Regions from separate parts of the Homo sapiens genome. Here region 1 is linked to region 2. Evidence: promoter capture Hi-C in human tissues and cell types (Jung and others, 2019). All regions are on one chromosome and are shown on one strand. The core of a region is centred on a gene start or on the middle of the fragment in contact, and the rest is flanking DNA. Distances in the headings are between cores, read along the strand shown. Region 1 holds the start of DENND2B (DENN domain containing 2B). Region 2 holds the start of SBF2 (SET binding factor 2).

The links. The method cuts DNA at HindIII sites, captures the fragments that hold promoters and counts their contacts. A contact is called where the count stands out against the background at its distance.
Region 1: a fragment that was not itself captured here is called in contact with the fragment with the promoter of SBF2 in region 2 in 1 of the 25 tissues and cell types used here (hippocampus).

The regions. Positions count from the first base shown.
Region 1 is chr11:8,806,019-8,812,493 of GRCh38, reverse strand. DENND2B (DENN domain containing 2B) reads left to right here and starts at 1,820. Exons shown (of 20, transcript NM_213618.2): 1 at 1,820-1,977. DENND2B-AS1 (DENND2B antisense RNA 1) reads right to left here. Exons shown (of 5, transcript NR_120590.1): 5 at 2,218-2,417. RefSeq lists enhancers at 5,897-6,396, 6,397-6,475. The HindIII fragment of the contact is 4,134 bases long and covers 1-3,943 here.
Region 2 is chr11:10,289,313-10,295,658 of GRCh38, reverse strand. It overlaps SBF2 (SET binding factor 2), which reads left to right and starts at 1,440. Exons shown (of 40, transcript NM_030962.4): 1 at 1,440-1,644. The coding sequence starts at 1,590. RefSeq lists silencers at 1,303-1,352, 1,473-1,752, 1,783-1,862, 1,903-2,042. The HindIII fragment of the contact is 12,564 bases long and covers 1-6,346 here.

The DNA of each region.
Region 1 (6,475 bases), core at 627-3,126, 1.5 Mb after region 2:
AAAAAAATCTGTTAAATTAGTATAATAATGCCAATCCTAACTTTCAGACCTGTCATGTTGAACAGACGAGCCAAGATTTTGAGAGTCGTTTAGAAAAGTGCAAGGTCACATATAGCTGTAGGGTAGGGCTTTTTCTCCGAGCTGTGCATCAGGACGTTTTACATCTTAGAGATGCTGTCTTAAGGTCTTTAGGCTGAAAGGATGGTAGTCAGCCTATCTCGCCACAACTTACAAGGATTCTCCACCTTCCCTTGGGAGCCCAGCGTTATCTCATAACCAGTTATCAAAAAGTTGACAGTTTTTGAAATCAGGTGGCAATATACTTTAGTTGAAAGTGTGCTGGACTAGGGCGAACTTGGCTGATCTCTTAGTTCTTTGACTGCCTAACTGTATAAGTGCAGATCAAATGTTTAATCTCTCTGAGTCTCAGTTTTTCCATCTATAAAATGGTCATAAGGCCAGTATGCTGGCTCACGCCTGTAATCCCAGCACTTTGAGAGGCTGAGGCAGGAGGATTGCGTGAAGCCAGGAGTTCAAAACCAGCCTGGGCAACATAGTGAGACCCTGTCTCTATAAAAATAAAAATTAAAAAAGTAGCCAGGCGTGGTGGTGCATGCCTGTAGTCCCAGCTACTTCAGAGGCTGAGGCAGGAGGGTTGTTTGAGCCCAGGAGTTTGATGATGTAGTGAGCTATGATTGCACCAATGCATTCCAGCTTGGGCAATGGAGCAAGATCCTGTCTCTAAAAGAAATTTAAGAAGAATAATAAATAAACTTGAAAAAATGGTCATAAAAATATCTGTGCAGTGTATTTCAAAAGGTTATGAGGATCAAACAAAATGATACATGTAAAAAGAATGTTACAAAGCAGAAATGTATGCTGGGTAGGGGGGAGAGGAAGGGACAGGATGGGGATGGGGATGGGACTAAACTTAGGGGGTCTGCCGTGTCCCAGGGACTGTGCTCATTTTCTGACAGGAGCAATATTATTACCGACTGTGACAGCAGCTCCCACTAAGCCTGCACCTTAGCTGCAGATCCTTAGCAGGGCAGAGAGACAAGGCTGTATTTGTATCAGGTTTGTCGTCTGGGTTGTGACTCTCGACTTGCCCAGGATTCTTCCTGGTCCTGACCGAGTTGTCTTTGCTCTCCATTTCAGGAAGATGAGAGACTGCTTAGGCGCCACCACTAGTACCATGAGTCCCTGCACTGGTTAAAGCCATCGCCACAACCTGGACAGGCAGCAAGGTAAGCAGAGAGGCCAGTCCAGGCGAGCTCCTGGGATGTGAGTGCATTTCCGCCCCAACTGCTGCCCGGAAAAATCCCAAGTGCACAAACAAGTCAAGGCAGCGCATCAGGGTCCCTCCTACCCGAGCTCCAGGACCCAGAGGAAGCTGGGTCCCCTTCAAGCGCTTCAGCTAGCTCCCTCCCCCCTGGCAGGGATTCTTCCAAGTTATAAAAAATGAGACACTGGAGGGGAAGAAAACAAGTCCACTCACTGTCTTCTCCCTTCTCCCCTCTGAGCTGTTCAAGCAAGTTCCCAGGAGCAGTTCAGAGCCCCTGTTGGACTGGAAGGGAGGTAGGAGGAGTGGAATGCATGCAAAAACCGAGCTGATCAAAAGACAGTGCTGTTTCATGGAAGCCTCCCAGAACTGAGAGAGAGAGAGAGAGAGAGAGAGAGAGAGAGACAGTGAGAAAGAAAGAAAAAGAGAGCGCCCTTGTGCACGCGCTAGGCCAAGAGCGCGCCGCTGTGCGCGCGCCCGCCTAGCGAGGACAGGGTCTCCATGACAACCGGCCTGGCCGGCTAGCAGTGCTCTGCTCACTTGGCTGCGAGGAGCGCCACGAAAGGTCAGAGGAAGGAGCTGTGGGAAGCTCGCAGCAGGTATCGGAGCTTAAGCCAGTGGATTTGGGGGCCCTGGGCTCCCTAGCCGGCTGCGGTGTGAGAATGGAGTGGGCAGGAAAGCAGCGGGACTTTCAGGTAAGGGCAGCTCCGGGCTGGGATCATTTGGCCTCCTTTCCTGGCCCTTCTCTCCGGCTGTTTTCTGGGAGTCAGGCGAGTGTCTGTAGTCTCTGCTCGGGGTTTGGGGCTCAGGAATGATGTCATGCTCCAACAGTTGGATTCTATTAGCTTAAGGAGGAGGGAAACAGCCAATTTTCTTGACTTTGCAAATCTAGCTGATCTCACTCTTGCTGAATCTGAGGTGTTTAGACTTCACTCTAAAAAGCATCATTTTACTTTTATTTAGCACAAAGGCACAGGATATTTTTACAGGAAGAATCTTTTATATGGAAAAATCTGAGTTAACATCACTCCCGTGGTGTTTGTAGTTCTTACAGGGAAACTCCAGTGCCTTTTGAGCCGCTTGTTCGTCCTAGTGAACACTGTCTGTTTTGTCTCTTGGTGCTGCTATGTCTGACCTGTAATGGAAAAAAAAAAAAAAAAAAGGCTAATTAAGCTCAGCCAGGAGCCTGTGGTGAGTTCCAAGTCCCTCTAGAGCATTTATTAGGACAGAGGGACTGTCACAGGGATGCCTGAGCTGGGGTTTTGCACTCTCTCTCTTCCAGGCAGCTTGGTAAGAATCAAGCTGTCCTCCCACATCAAAAGGTCGATCACAGACTTTCCTAAGAGGTGGAGGAGGGGGCTGGCTTGGGGTTGGGGGGCCTGCAAACAGGTTTCTCATCCAGATGTCCCAGAGTGAGCTCTCAGCAGCAGCTGCTAAGAGCTGGGGAACATGAGGCACTGTAGTTGTGCCGGGTGGATTCCTTTGGTTACATTTTGACCAAATCTCAGGGCACGCAGTGTCCACGCTGTGCACTCCTACACTGATTGTCCTAAGTTTTGGTAAAACTTGTTCTGACCTAGAGGAGTGGTACATGGTGAGCTGTGTGGCCTTGGAAAGGAGACCCTCCCAGAAAGGCAGTTTTATAGGTGATAGGGTAGTGGGGTTGTCAGTAATATTATGAGGAGGATGAATGCAGCAAACACTTCCTGCAACGGAGACCCATCAGGGGTTGTGCTTCCACTTGAGCCATGTTATGTCTTAAATTCACTTCTTGGCCTCAGGGAACTTTGCAAATGCCTTTGGTTTCTCTGTGGGATGAGGGAACAGCTGCTGTCCTGGTTCTTCAGTTTTTCTTCTTGAACTTTCTGAACAGAATGTCTTTTGTATTCTGGCAAACAATGAGGGGGCATTCTGATTAACTTCGGATCAGCTTGCCAATGCAAGCACTGGCCATGTCCCCAGTTCCGGCTCCCTAAAATGAGTACATGTATACATCGTGGTTGTGGCCTGAGGGTCCACAAGGGTGAACTCCATGGCCCTGGACCTCAGACGGTCCACTTCTGAAGTTATTCCTCTTGCTACATACACTCCAGGGATCCTTTGCTTAGTTGAAACCTACATTTTGCTGGAGGGATGTGGCATAACACTGAGCCAGTGGCCCCTTCAGTTGGCAGTGTAAATCCAGAACCTCAGCCTTCTTTTCTACTTGTGTGTGTAGTTGGAGCTCTTCAATTTTACCATCCCCACATCTGTGAAGAGGGCTAGCAGAGACCCAGTTTCAGGAGCTGCTGCTCCTTCTGTTGGTATAGCAGAAAGAATAATGGATTTGGGTTGCTAGACTTGAGTCGACGGCTAGATTCTGTTCCCATAGGGCGGCCACGGGCAAGTATCTTAACTAATAGGAGCTTCAGATTCTTACCTGTGAGATGGAGGTAATAAGAACAACTTCACAGGACTGTTGGGAGGAGCCAGTGGGATAACTTCCATGAAAGTAGTTTGAAACAAGTCACGTCCTATCTAACGAACCGTGTTGTGAATTGAAGCTTGAGGAATGACCCAACTCTCTCTGGAAAGTCACTTTGCCTCTCTGTTCTGGTTCTCTCATTTTATAAAGTGCCTTCTTCCTTTCTGCATTTATAAGTAAACATGAGAAAAATCTGAAAAGACTTCTTCAGGATGTTTAAGGAAACAAATGTTGCTTTCCTTGGGTTGGGTCGTTTCATAAGAGTGATGTTTGCCATAAAACTGGAGCCTCATAGACGATCCTGCAGGGAGGAAGCTTTCCTTGGTCACCTGACTCATGTGTTTATATATAGTATAGAGGAGAGGTATTCCAAAAGACCCGTCGCTTTTCCTGTGTCCCACAGCTGCCTGTAGAGTTGTGGCACCATAAACTTTAGCAGCTGGAAAAGAGGCCAGGCCTGGTTCCCTCATCCTGCTGGGTCCTGCTGGGCACACTCTGCAGTGGGCAAAGGGGTCTTTCTCCTTCATTCTGGGTTTAGAAGGCAGGGTTCTAACTGGGAGAAAGTGTTATTGCTCCGAAAGGCTTCTTGGGGGCTGGGCAGGTCTTTCAGGAACTCATAAGGCCACAGCTTATGGGGAAAGAAAAAGAAACAAGGAAGTGGGAATTCCAAGGGCAGAGATTCTTGATATGCCATGGGACTGTGCCAAGGAATGGAAGAGCAGGGGAAGGGAGACTCCAGGCAAGGAGAGTCCCAGGTCTGTCCTCATTGAGTCGAAAGGGCGTATGGCATACTAGAGCGCGTCACCCACAGCCCCAGCTTTACTGTAGGATGGGGAAGACCTGCCAGCCATATCCCGGAGTGGTGTCTGGGAAGAAGCCCTTGAGCAGACCCATAGTAGGCAGATTAAAAAAATGAAACAAAACAAGCAGCTCCCCTTCTAGTTGAGTCATGTCACAACAGCCTCTAAGGCCTGAAGGAGAAGCTGCCCACAGCTTAGATTGGGGCTGCAGCTGTTCCCCGACTCCCATCAGTCCGGCTTCCCAGAGCTGAGTCACAAATTGGATCTGTCTATGTTCCTTAAGGATTAAAAAGTAACATTCCTGTTCTCACTCCCTCTTTCCTCCTTCTACTCCGCTTCCTGTACCTTCTCCCCTTGGGCTCTCTCTCTCTCAAATTAGATATCAGTCACCCCGGGAAGATGAAACTTTGAAATACACTGGAGAACAGGCCAAGGACACCCTTGGTTCTGCTGGTTCAGCCTCTTTCCCTGGAATGAAGGGCGGGGTGTACAGATTCAGGAGGGCAATCCAAGTATCATGGCCCCACTGGTAGCCTAGACCTAAGAGAGGCTGTGCCCCACTCCCCACCGCATCTGATTCTAAGAACTGCATTACGGGAGGTCCACCTGGCACCTCAGGGAGATGGGAGGCTCTGAGGCCTGGGCCTTCTGAAGCACCTCCCTGTGGGGCAGTTGGGACTGAAGGATTGAAGAATACATCTTCCTTCCTGTCACTCCTCTTAGCTGTTAACTGTCATTGCCCTGGAAACGTCCCCATTTCCATCGTTGGGCCTAAGAGAGTCGGCCGAGGCAGCCAAGCCCGGGGAACACATAGTTGAGGCTGGAGGAGGCCTGGCAGCAGCCCTTCCGAGCCCTGGCTTGGCCTTCCTTCTGTGCCTCTGCATGGGCTTGGGAGGAGGGTGTGTTTAGGGCAGGCTGCGAGGAGGGGAAGGGGAAATCTGCAGGCAGATAATTGAGTTCTTTGAGTTGGAGGGACCATGGAAAGTGGAGAAGGGGCCAGGAGGGCATAGAGCGAAAAAAGAAAAAGAAAAAAAAAAAAGACCATCTGGCATAGTCTGCAGAGATTTGTCTTTAAAGCCTATGGGAAAACTTGCATTAGTGTGTGCCTTCTCCTGGGGAGGCAGGGGCTGGGGAGGCTAGGCATTTGTTTCATCCTGGAGGGGAGGTGCTATGTGTGTCTGTCTCAGTAGGTGGGTCGGAGGAACTACTGGGTGCATCTGTCTTAGAGGAATATGCCACGTAATATTGTGCTGATAGAAACACCTGAGCTCTCTATTTCTAGCCATAGGCCCCAGAAAGCTCTCCTGGGTGTGTGTGTGTGTGTGTGTGTGTGTGTGTGTGTTTTGAAGGGAGAGGAGGGTGTTAAATGAGTCTAGATTACCTTATTGAAGAATTTCTCCAAAGACCCCTTCTCTTATTTTTTTGGCTCTGATGTCATGAATGTACTGTTGTTGGGGAGGGTGTTGAAACTATCACTATACTCTTCTCATCTAAAACTGCCTGAATGTTAGATTTCACTGTCCTTATAAAAGAGTGAATTATATGCAGTTAGCGTATGAAGCCTTCTTAACCAAAGCAGACCTATTCCTACAGGCTTGTCACGAAACCACCACAGTTTCTCAAAGCTCCAGACTCTTCCTCTGTGTGACCTGTCATCACCAAAGGGGTTGTGTGTGAGCTGGAGATGGACTGTTGGAAATCACATAGTGGATGGAGGATTATTTGGAACTGGGAAAAAATGAGATAAACTGAGGGTTACGGGAGACAAGATCTGAGGCAGGAGGAAGACTACTGGAAGGAAGCAGGAGTGAGGCACTGGGCAAGGGGCCCTGGGCGGAGGCAGTTCTCAGGAGCAGCAGGTGGTAATCGAGAGAAGGGCTGACCTCGGAGGCCTACACAATTTAGCAGAAGGCCAGACTGCCCCCAGGG
Region 2 (6,346 bases), core at 191-2,690:
GGATGATGAGCTCTCAGGGAAGTTACAGAGAGGATTGCTGCACGGGGTATGACTGAGGTTTTTTTTTTTTTGGTTTAATTATTTTCAGGATCAAACTATCTTCCCTCCACGTTTGCAAATTCAGCTGATTCAGTTTTACCATTAGCAACTGACATAGAGGTCCTGGAGTTAAAGTATTCCTTCAGTTTCAGTTCTAGTGCAGCCCAACCCTCCCAATTTGTAGATGAAACAAGTGTGGCAGAGAAAGGGGAAATAGTAAATTACAGCAGAGTAAATCTTCAGGAGCTGAGATGTCAACTCTCTCAGTTCAGAGTTGGAGCCATTGCGGCTTCCTGCTGGTCGTTGGGGAAAATCGCACATTTACTCATTTAAAATATTTTGTAGGCACCTACTATATACTAGACGCTTTGCTAAGAGGCCTTGTCTTATGTGTAAATATGAAGGATCAAACCCTCAATTAATAGTGAGCAGTGATAAGCAACCACAAAGACAACTTCTAAACCACGGAGATTTCCAAAACTTTGGTCTACCACTTGTACAAATTCTACTAAAACTTCGTGAGATATTAACAAATGACAAAGTGAGTTCACCTGAATGTCACACCAGCCAAATTCGAAATGGTCAATAGGAGGTTCAACAAAAAAGCAAGCGACTTTGATAATCCCGAGACGGAAGGACGGGACCATCTATTCATTTTTGTGCATGTTTGAGCAGGGAAGTTGGAAGTCCACCTGCTCGGGCTGCGAGAGCCCTGGGACCGCTGCGAGGGAAGCAAGCCGAGGCGTGCGGGGCTCCCCAGGGAGAGGCCAGCCCAGTTCGGGAGGATCCCGGGGATGCCGCGTTCCTCGGTGGAATCTGGCTCTCCCGGGCGCTCCGGGGGAAGCCCAGGCCGACCGCCCCCGGCCCACCCGGCATTGAAACCCGAGGCTCCTTGGAGGATTGCGTAAAAGCCTCTCCCTCCCCCGTCTGCTCGGTGGCATGTTTCTAAAATTCCCATCTACACAACATAAACAGGAAACGTGCAGCAAAAGCCCTGTCGATGCAAATTCCTTGCTTCCAACCGAGGGCGGGAGAATTTCATCTTTGGTGGTGGTGGGGAGCAGAGGAAGCAGCCAGCTTTCCAAGTGACCCCTCAACTCTCCACATCCCTTCTTCCAAATCCAAACAGAATAGAGAAGGCGGAAGGAAGGACCCCCTGCTTTAGGAAAAATAGGGAGGCAGAGGGGGCCGTGAAGCAGCATCCAGGCCTCAAAGTGAACCACCTCCAGGGGCCGCGGTGGCGGCGCGTGGCGGGAACACGCCCGACCGCCCACTCCCCCAGCGCAGCAGTCCGCGAGGCCCGCGGAGGGTGGAGGTGGGCTCGCCGCCCGGGCTTGGGGCAGCCGAGCCAGCGCGGGTGGGGGCGGGGGAGGAGCGGGCACTAGGCGCCGCGCAAGCGCAGAGCGCGCCTCGGTTGTCAAACATGGCTGAAGCGCTGCCGCTGCCGCTACTGCCGCTGCAGGGAAAATGCTGAGCCCTCCCGGGCCGGGTGGGCGGCGGCGGCGAGGGCGGCGACGGGGACCCGCTTCCCGAGCGCGGCGGCGGCGGCCATGGCCCGGCTGGCTGACTACTTCATCGTGGTAGGCTATGACCACGAGAAGCCAGGTAAGGGTGTGGGGCGGCACCGCCCCCGGGCCTCCCCGCCCCCCGGCCGCTGTCCAGTGGGCTCCGCGGGGCCGGGCGTCGGGGACGGGCGTCGGGGAGGGCCAGGCCGAGTCTCGGAGGAGCGGGCGGTCGGCGTCCGGCCTTCTCGGCTGGGCTGAGCCTGGCGGTGGGCGTGGGGGGGCCGGCACGACGGTAGGGGGAGGGAAGACGCCGCGTCTGCCCAGCCCCTGGGCGCACCCGCTGGGCGGGCCGGAGGCGAGTTGGGGTCTCGCGACCCTCCCGCTGGAGGCTGCAGGGTACCCGGGGCAGAGAGAGCCCTGAGATTGGGCCCAGGACCGCAAGGCTGGGAGGGCGGGAGCCAACTGTGCTAAGTTCCTCGGGGATAAACTTCTGCCCTGCATCCTGAGTGAGTAACCAGTGACGCAGGGGGTTGTCCTCTCCGAAAGGAAGTGCTGAGAGTCCAGTGCTAACTCACCCCTGTGCTGTTGGGGGCCTAGTGACCTCCCCAAGGAACGCGTGGTACCAGGGAAGGGGACAGGATTCTTTGCACTTTTACCCCTTTCTAGGAAATGCTCCCTATTCTTTCAGGACAAATGTGACGGTCACTTCACAGTGACATGACTTGTCTTTTAACTAAGGACAGCCAGCTGACCGCTGAAGGTGATCTTGTTTCACTTTAATGTGTTTTCATTGTTCTTTTTATTTGTCACAGAATTTTCGTCGTAAGGAACAATTGGGCAAATGCATTGTATTTTACACTTTAATTGACGGACTTCCACAACTTAAGAGAATTCAGGGTTCATGCACGTTTATTTCTGTATTTGTATTCTCTTGTATTACTATGTAGCTAAGCATAATGTAATAACAAATTGAGCTGGGAAACCACTTCTATTTTAGGGCAATTCTAGTCCCACATTTGCAAGGAATTTGAGATATCAGCTCTACAGCCCCTTCATTTTTCAGAGATGCTGAGATTGTGTTTTCCTGATGGTTACAGCCATTGGTAGCTCAGAATACCATTGTTCTACCCACTCTTGGTCCACTCTCTCTTTCATTATTCCTCTCCTAAGAACTTCCTCTCCTTTAGTGGGAACCTTTCATGTTCTTTTCTCTTTCACCAGTCATGACCTGATTGAGGTCAATTGTTAAAGAGAAAGTTTAAATGTTTAAACTTCTGGATCCAAAATTTTATTTCCTAGTAATTTGGCATAGTCTGATGTTTCTTTTCTATCAAGATTAAGTGTGGGAAATCAGTTTTTTAACCTTTAGTTTTTAGTGACATTGTTCCGCCTCCCCCCCTCCCCACTTTTAAACAATTTTTTTTTTTTTTTTTTTTGAGACGGAGTTTTGCTCTGTTGCCCACGCTGGAGTGCAGTGGTGCGATCTTGGCTCACTGCAACCTCTGTCTCCCGGGTTGAAGCAATTCTCTGCCTCAGCCTCCGGAGTAGCTGGGATTTACAGGCGCCCGCCAACACGCCCGCTAATTTTTGTATTTGTAGTAGAGACGGGATTTCACCATCCTGGCCAGGCTGGTCTTGAACTCCTGATCTCGTGATCCACCGGCCTCGGCCTCCCAAAGTGCTGGGATTACAGGCTTGAGCCACCACGCCCGGCCAACAATGTTGAAACAATAACAGACTTGCAAAAAAGTTGCAAGAATGGTACAAAAAATTCTACCCGCCCCCCAACAATTTGAGAGGAAGCTGTTGACCTGATGCCCTGTCATCCCAGAATACTTTAATGTGCATTTTCTGCAAACAAGAATGTTCTCCTACATGATCACAGTGTAATAACCAAAACAGGAAATGGATAGTGATACAGTACTCCATCTAGTTCTCAGACTGGTTCAAGTTTTGTTGATTGTGCTAGTAATCTCTTTACTGGCAAAAGGATCCAGTTTAGCAATATGTGTTGCATTCATGTTATGTCTCTTTTGTCTCCCTCAATCTGGAACATTTCCTTTATCTTCTCCTGACTTTCATGACCTTAACATATTTAACAATTACAGGTCAGTCACTTTGTAGGCTGCCCCCTCAATTTGGGATTGTCTGTTCCTTCATGATTAGATACATACGAATATGCACGTGGGAAGGATATCACAGAAGTGATGCTCACTGCATCCTGTCAGGTGGTGCACAATTTCACTTTGTTTCATTGTTGGTTATTTTTACTTTGATTACTTGATATAAGTAATATCTGCGAGGCTTCTCCACTGTAAAGTTAATACTTAATTGTTTTTGCCATGTACTTTGAAACTATGTAAATATCTTGTTCCTCACTAAACTCTTAATCATTTATTGACATCTACATGGAGTCTGTGTGTGTGTGTGTGTGTGTGTGTGTGTGTGTGTGTGTGTTTAGTGGATTATATTCTGTTACTATTTGCCTTAGTCTATTCGGAAAAAGTCACTAGCCCACCTGCCCGAAGCACTGGCTTGAGTGGGAAATAGGAGAGTCTAAGCACATCCAGCCGAAGTGAGACCAGAAAGGGGAGCTCGCGGATTATATTCTGTTACTATTTGCCTTAGTCCATTCGGGCTGTTATAACAAAAATACCTCAAACTGGGTGGCTTATAAACAATAGAAATTTATTTTTCACAGTCTGGAGGCAGAGAAATCCAAGATGAAGACTCTGACAGATTCAGTGTCTGGTGAGGACATGCTTCCTCATAGCCATGTTCTCACTTTAACCTCATATGGCTTAAGGGTCAAATGAGCTCTCTGGGGTCTCTTTAAAAAGGGAACTAATCCCATTCACAAGGACTCCACCACCATGACCTGATCACTTCCTAAAGGCCTCACCTCATAATACCATCACTTTGGGTGTTAGGATTTTAACATACGAATTTTGGGAGGGGACATACACATTCAGACTATAGCATTATTTATTTTGATGTTCAAATTGTTCTTTATATGGCCAATGAGAGTTGTACAAGCTGGCTTCTGTGTTCTTATGGTACATCCCCATCACTCTTTGAGAACAACTTTGTACTTTTTGGCACAAGAACCTGTTCCTGGCTCATCTTGTACTTTCCATGCCTTGGTTCTGTAATCAGCCATTTAGGGATCCCTGGTTCCTTTTAGTGGAGAATGACATTTAGAAGCTAAGATCTCAAGGCTAGTGTGTTTATTGCTGTTGGGCTGTTACTCCTTCCAGGTCCTGTTAATGGTCAGGGCTGGTAAGTATAGGTATGTATGCATAAACATACATATGCATTTATATCTATATTTATTTATTATCTCTGTATATTGAAAACTATGAATTCATACTGATACCTCCAATTTCAGTCAAATAGTCCAGGATCTATTCTAGTGTTCTCCTTTTTCATATTGTAACGTTCTTCTCTGACAGTGAGAAATCTGGCTTCTGTTATCCTGAATGTATTTACTTATTGTTCAGTCTCCCATCTTCACTACCATCTACTCCTCTCCCTGCTGGGACTTGGATTCTTCATTCCATCTCCTCCATCCCCCTACCCCAGTCTGGATCTAAGAGTCCATACCAGCATGCTTCCATACAGGGACACCCTCCCCAGCACTCTGGTTATGACTCCTCATGTTGGTCTCCCCACTGTCGGTGGACACACTTCGTACCCCACTCAGACTCTGACACACCCCAGTGAGTTGCTTCCATTGGAAGATATCCTTCTCACTCTGTTGTACCCCAGTGCCCTTTGCCAGTTTCCCCCTCCTGCCTTAATGCTTGGGCTCTGAAGCAAAATGTTTGCCTCTTCCCCTACCACACAGACTCCTTCCCTAGCTCTCTTGGTCTATGACAATATGACAAGCTCCACCCCAGGGATCCACCTCCACCCCAGGGGTACCATGACAACTGCTCTTCTCACAGCAGGAAAAGGGAAGGAGAAGGAAGATTAATTTTTTAAGTAATACAATCCAGAAGCTTGTATAAATTGTAGAATGTCAACAGTGAAATGTATAACTTTTTAACTTGGGATAATTCTTCTTTTGTCATGTTGATGGCAGCGAAGAGGTGCGGGCGGTGGTGTCAGGAGCGGCTATGGGAGCAGCAATGATGCTGGTGGGTCCCCTGTGCCCTGCATCCCTGAGGCAGCCGACTGTACTGCCCCCGCCCTTGTGCCTCTGGGCAGGACCTGCCCTCAGGCCCGGAGCCTCCCCAGCTCCTGACCCTGGCCCTGTGTCACCACTCTTGCCCACCAATGCTGCGGGGAGGGTGTGAGGAGGAGGCGGAGCTGGAGGTGTGATATGGGGGTCTGGGGCCGGAAGTGGGAGCAGTGCCTGCTTCAGGGACCCAGCCAGCAGCGTGGTCACCACACCCACCCTGCCGAGGGCACCGGGTTCCTGTGCCTCAGGGGTAGGCTCTGAGCAGGGCCGCCTAGGGCCGCATCCCTGGGGTCCACCCTGCATCAGGGTGATTGCCAGGCCTGACACTCCCAAGGGCTGGGCCCAGGGCCCACAGTCTGCTCCTGGAGGCACCCCCCTAGGCAGGGCCACAAGCTGGGTGAGGGGGAGCTCGTAGAGATGTTACCTCTGCCCTAGATACTGGCCTGGGCCCAGCGAGGACCTGGAGCCCCTGCTCCAGGCTACGAGGGGGCATGGCTAGGGCTGCACACTCCACGGACCTGGCTGGAGCAGGCAGCAGCCCCGCCCTCCTGGGTGTGCTGCAGCCACCCAAGTCAGAGCTGTGGACCCAGTTCTCCCTGTGTTCTAAGGGGCCACGAGC